Linked DNA regions of Homo sapiens: region 2 is linked to region 1. Evidence: promoter capture Hi-C in 16 types of primary human blood cells and fetal thymus (Javierre and others, 2016). All regions are on one chromosome and are shown on one strand. Each heading gives the region's core, a stretch centred on a gene start or on the middle of the fragment in contact. The rest is flanking DNA. Distances are from core to core; before and after follow the strand shown. Region 1 overlaps FAM222B (family with sequence similarity 222 member B). Region 2 holds the start of TRAF4 (TNF receptor associated factor 4).

Region 1 (2,912 bases), core at 185-2,684:
CACATGCATATCCAACAAGGATTCTTAAAGGACAGTATCATTAGAAAGACAGCTCTGGCCTTCACTGAGAACAGACTGTAAACTACTAAGGGTTAAACTGATTGAGAGAAAATTTGCCTAAGCAACCATTCTTTAGGAAGAGTTCAGTAACTCACCAACAATAAATTCTACATCCTCATCTGAGTGGTAAACAGATTACAGACTCCATCAAGTCCTCTACTTTCAGGATTCAGACTCATAGCAAACAACTTCCTCAAAAGATTCAGCTTCCAAGAGTCAAACCCTGGGGGAGGGGATTGTGCTTAAACACACAAAATATTGTCTCTGACACCTGACTGAAAAAGCTGAAAAGCTAAAAACTACCATCACCCACATCTCCATATGAATGCATCCATTGTTCTAAATAAGTCTCTGACAATTGACAGAGCATTCTCAGAGTCTCCTGTGCCTCTAATATTTTCTCACCTAGAGTAAGCTTTTCCCAATTCCAAACCTTACAACACTCAAGCTGATTATTCTGAGAATCAAGCAATGCCAAGGGCCCAATATTTTTCTTTCACCTTCTCAAGGGGATCATTTTATACTTCTGATGTGAACAGGGGATTAGTCTCGAGTCTCCCTTTAGAGAGAACATAGAGTCCTTTTTCTTAACACATTCCAAGCCGTGACTCACAGAAATAAGCAGGATGGGCCGGGCACGGTGGCTCATGCCTGTAATCCCAGCACTGTGGAAGGCCGAGGCAGGTGGACCATCTGAGGTCAGTTTGAGACCACCCTGGCCAACATGGTGAAACCCTGTCTCTACTGAAAATACAAAAATTAGCCAGGCGTGCTGGTGCGTGTCTGTAGTCCCAGCTACTCAGGAGGCTGAGGCAGGAGAACTGCTTGAACCTGGGAAGCAGAGGCTGCAGTGAGCAGAGAGATTGTGCCACTGCATTCCAGCCTGGGTGACAGAGCGAGACTCCGTCTCAAAAAAAAAAAAAAAAAGAGAGAGAGAGAGAAATGAAATAAGCAGGTTGGATAAAAACAGACTGCTAAAGAAAATTAAATCAACTGCTTTAACCTCAACCAGCACTATGCCCCCTCAACCTAAGAGATTATGGCTTTCTATAATTGTTTCCTTGCAGATGACCAAATTCCAGGATTTCCATGCCCCTTAAATGATATTTGAACATCAGTGCAAATACATTTATGATTAGTTCTATACATAGTCTTCTGTCTCCTGGGAAAATTCTTTCACGAACCCCTAATTATTGCACCATGCAAAACAGTGATCACACAAATCAGTCAAAAAAATAGAAATATCGGGCGTGGAGGGGTGCAGTGGCTCACACCTTAATCCCAACACTTTGGGAGGCCTCTGGGAGGGCTGCTTGAGGCCAGGAGTTTGAGACCAACCTGGGCAACAGAGCCAGACCCTATTCTCTACAAAACATAAAAATTAAAAAATAGTAATATAAAAAAGTGAGTGAAGTATAACTTTATAAAGCTGTACTTACTGCTCACCCATGGGTAGAGAACATAAAAACCACCCAGATATCAAATAGAAGGGCAAACTTGTTTTTTGACAGAAGCAAGTTGAAATTGTACAGCCTCCAACTGGTTTTTTTTTGTTTTTGTTTTTGTTTTTTTGAGACAGGGTCTCACTGTGTCACCCAGGTTGGAGTGCAGTGGTACAACCTTGGCTCACTGCAACCTCTGCCTCCCGGGTTCCAGCAATTCTCCCACCTCAGCCTCCCAAGCAGCTGGGACTACAGGAGTGCACCACCACGCCCAGCTAATTTTTTTATGTTTTGGTAGAGACGGGGTTTTCACCATGTTGGTCTTTAACTTCTGACTTCAAGTGATCCACCCACCTCAGCCTCCCAAAGTGCTGGGATTACAGGAGCAAGCCATTGCACCCCGCCTTCCAACTGGTTTTTTTGGTCACTTCCCCAGCTTCCTATACCTTAGATATCAAAGTGCACTTTGTTTTATATACTAGCTAACTCTGTTTTATATACTAGCTAACTTTGTTTTATATACTAGCTAACTTTGTTTTACATACTAGCTAACTCTGTTTTATATACTAGCTAACTTTGTTTTATATACTAGCTAACTTTGTTTTATATACTAGCTAACTTTGTTTTATATACTAGCTAACTCTGTTTTATATACTAGCTAACTGTAAAGGCTTCAATCAGTGATTTTTAACAGTTCACTCTCAGTAGCAAGTTAACTAGTCAACATCTGGGGGATCCCCTTTCCCTCCCAATTTAAATACAACTCATGGAGCCTTAAGGGACAAGTGAGTAATAAAAACCCAAAACCTGACACAGGATTACTGTGAATCTACTTTTTAGTAACATGTCTATTCTAAGGTATTTGAAATCTTCTTTTTAAAAAAGGTAAAGTAAGCTTCGTAATCCCTATTACTTTCCACAGCTGAAATGGTTTCCTATCCCATTATCCCTATTTTTTATAATACTTGCTTTCATCCCAAATTGCTCCTAATTGTCTAGAGATCTAATAAATCAATGCAAAGAAAAAAATCACTAATCTAGCCAAAAGTGTAAGACAGCTCCAGTGTATCAATTCTGTCTTCAAAAGTGGACCCCAGTTACAACAATCGTGGGAAACTGAACCTGTATTACATAAACTCTGAACCATTTTAATTAATATTTATCAAAGTGTTGCCAAAAAAAAAAATATTCATCCCTTTTGGTACTGTAGCTCTTTGCTAATCAACATTAAGATAAACCTGCTCCAAACACGTTTCGTTGAAAATGCCCATTTAGGCCAGGCGCGGTGGCTCACGCCTGTAATCCCAGCACTTTGGGAGGCCGAGGCGGGTGGATCACGAGGTCAGGATATCAAGACCATCCTGGCTAACACGGTGAAACCCGGTCACTACTAAAAATACAAAAAATTAG
Region 2 (2,912 bases), core at 163-2,662, 66 kb before region 1:
CACAGACCCTACCCTTTCCCCTAGCCCAGTTAGAAAATAAGTCTGGGCCGGCGGCGGTGGCTCACACCTGCATAGGCAGTGCTTTGGCCAGGAGGATCCCTTGATCCCTTGTGGCCAGGAGTTGGGAGACCAGCCTGGGGACCATAGCGAGACCGCTGTCTCCACCAAAAAAAAAAAAAAAGAAGAAAATAAGGCTGGGTGCGGTGGCTCACGCCTGTAATTCCAGCACTTTGGGAGGCCAAGGCGGGCGGATCACTTGAGGTCAGTAGACTGAGGCCAGCCTGGCCAACATGGTGAAACCCCGTCTCTACTAAAAATACAAAAATTAACCAGGCATGGTGACGGGCGCCTGTAATCCCAGCTACTCTGGAGGCTAAGGCAAGAGAATCCCTTGAACCCGGGAGGTGAAGTTTGCAGTGAGCCGAGATCGCACCACTGCACTCCAGCCTGGATGACAGAGCAAGTCTCCCTCTCAAAAAAAAAAAAAAAAAAAAAAAAAAAAAAGTATTTGGTGCTTACCGGGACTCTATCTCCATACTTTGGAGCAGGGCAAGCCAGGGCCTGCCTGGACTGGCCATTAGGCCTGCCTAGCTTCTGCATAGCCCGGGGCTGGGCGGTCCCCGGGAGTGCTGCCACCTCCCCTACACTTTCATCCTGAGGCAGGATTTGCTAGACGTCGGCTTGCCTCTCTTCCCCAGCAGGAGGGCAGGAGTCACTAAGTGCTGCAGAAAAGATCCGCGCTGGAGATTGCCCGTCCCCCCCATGCCTTTCCCCAGAAACAGTTGAGAGAATGGGTAGCTGGTGGGACCAGACCGGTTTCCCAGAGGACAGGAAGGCCAATAAAAATATCAGCTGCCTGCCTGGAGTGTGGTGTCTTCAAGGGTGGGGGTGGCGACCAGGCACCCCAGGACTGGGCTGGGCCCGACCTCGGTGGCAGGGCTGCGGCCAAGGGAGGAATGTGGGCGCAGCCGGAGGCTGGGGCCGAGGTTCCTCTGGCCCAGCGCCCAGTCCAGCCTCCCCGCCCCAGCTGGGCTCCCCGGAGCTGGTTGCCAGGCTTCGGCTGCCTAGCACCTGGAAGCTGGGGCCACGGTTCCTGGGCTGCTCACGGCCCCGGAGGCCGAGCTGTTGCCTCTGGAGAAGAAAACCTTTGTGGCGCGGCCCGTCCCCTTTTCCGACCCGCACTTCCCCGGGGCCCGCGGGCTCTGGGGAGAAGCGGAGCCACGATCTCTGTCCCCCAGGGGAAAGAAAAGCCCATGATCCCGTGGGTGGGCGAGACTGGCGGTCACCAGACCCAAAAACCATGCACTCGGGGGTGGGCGGGGCCGCGAGGGCGCGCATTAGGACCGCGCGGCCGCGGTCCGCCCTCTCTTCCGGAGGGCGGGCTTCACAGCCGAGCCCTGGCCGCGACCGCCAGTCGGCGCCGCCCGGAGCCGGGAGCGCCGCTCCAGCGAGGCGCGGGCTGTGGGGCCGCCGCGTGCCTGGCCCCGCTCGCCCGTGCCGGCCGCTCGCCCGCCATGCCTGGCTTCGACTACAAGTTCCTGGAGAAGCCCAAGCGACGGCTGCTGTGCCCACTGTGCGGGAAGCCCATGCGCGAGCCTGTGCAGGTTTCCACCTGCGGCCACCGTTTCTGCGATACCTGCCTGCAGGAGTTCCTCAGGTGCTGGCCGGGGAGCAGGGGACAGCGGGGGCGGGGCGGGGCGGGGGGCGCCGCCTGGGGAGGGTCTCGGGCCCGGGGCAAGGCGGGCCTTTGTCTGCGCTGCGACCCTGTGACCTCAGGGGCGCCCCGTGACGTCACGGGGAGGGATGACGTCAAGCCCCGAGGGAGGCCCCCCCCGCAGGAATCCGAGGGGTCCGGGCGGGTCCCAACTGCCCGGCCCGGGGCGGAAGACCTCGGCGCCTTCTCGTGGGGTCAGGAGGGGAAGAGGCCCTTCCCCGTCACCTGAGAGCCGGCGCGGCCTCAGCCTTGAACTTTGAATCCTGGGGGAAGAGGACAAAACCCGCTCCCGCGTGGCAGTTTGAGCCTCCGGAGCTTTCCCCCATCTAACCTCTTCTGATTCTTCGAACGTTCAGAGAACGGTAGCTATTGTTCTCCCATTTCACAGATCATGAAACGAGATTCAAAGAAAGGCTGCGACTTGCCCAGGGTCACATAGTTACTTAAAGGCTTAACTAGGATTTAAACCCGGACTGCTTATGATCACACAATGGAGGAAGGACTGAATCCTCCCCCGAAGAAGGACCCCTCTAGGCGGCTCCCCTCTCTCCCGGGGGCTGGAGTAAGGCGGGTGGTCCATAAGTCATGAAGAAGGGGGTCGCACTCGTGTTGTTACTGAACTCCCGCTGCCCTCTCAGGACGCAGGTTAGCCCTTGGCTCTTGGGCATCCATCAAGTTTCTGGGCGCCCTGTATGTCTTGAATCTCCTGCTCACGCAGGGAACCCCTCAGGCCCGGGTGTGGGAAGCAGGGTGAAGGAGCCCCGACTCTTCGGAGGTCATGCCCCCAGAGCGCAGGGGAAGGCCGAGTCGGCCACTGCCTGGCTGTTTGCTGGGACGAGGGGATCGAGGGCCTGGCAGGGATAGTACCTCTGAGACGCCTGCCTCCGGTGCTCCCTCCCGCCGTGCCTCCCTCCCTCGCTCGGTCCTCCGTAGCTCCTACTGGCGGAAATCTCAGCAGGCCCTTTGTTTTCTGTTCCCCACAGCCTGGGCCGGCTCCTGCCCTCACATATGCTCCGGCACAAGCTGCAGGACTGCCCCCTCCCCCTCGGCAGTGTACACATTTACTCTCCTACAGACACAGCCCCATTGTCTCCGCCACTGCTCTTCCCCGGCCCTCTGGGTTCCAGATGAGGCCAGCTGAGCCCCCCGACCCCCCCACAGCTGACCCACCCTGACTGCCTCGGGAAAGGAGCGGGGG

Evidence for each region. Contacts are between HindIII fragments. The CHiCAGO score rates a contact against its expected background, and 5 or more counts as called.
Region 2: the fragment with the promoter of TRAF4 here is called in contact with a fragment that was not itself captured in region 1 in 1 of 17 cell types (fetal thymus); the score reaches 5.4 in fetal thymus.

Annotation. Positions count from the first base shown.
Region 1 is chr17:28,808,383-28,811,294 of GRCh38, forward strand. All of the region lies in intron 1 of FAM222B (family with sequence similarity 222 member B), which reads right to left. Among named protein-coding and RNA genes, the nearest start is that of FAM222B, 33 kb to the right of the region's middle. RefSeq lists an enhancer at 359-1,300. The HindIII fragment of the contact is 1,922 bases long and covers 474-2,395 here.
Region 2 is chr17:28,742,599-28,745,510 of GRCh38, forward strand. TRAF4 (TNF receptor associated factor 4) reads left to right here and starts at 1,413. Exons shown (of 7, transcript NM_004295.4): 1 at 1,413-1,657. The coding sequence starts at 1,515. It overlaps NEK8 (NIMA related kinase 8), which reads left to right. Exons shown (of 15, transcript NM_178170.3): 15 at 1-857. RefSeq lists enhancers at 489-1,489, 513-807 and silencers at 513-807, 1,262-1,671, 1,692-1,891. The HindIII fragment of the contact is 4,112 bases long and covers 1-2,912 here.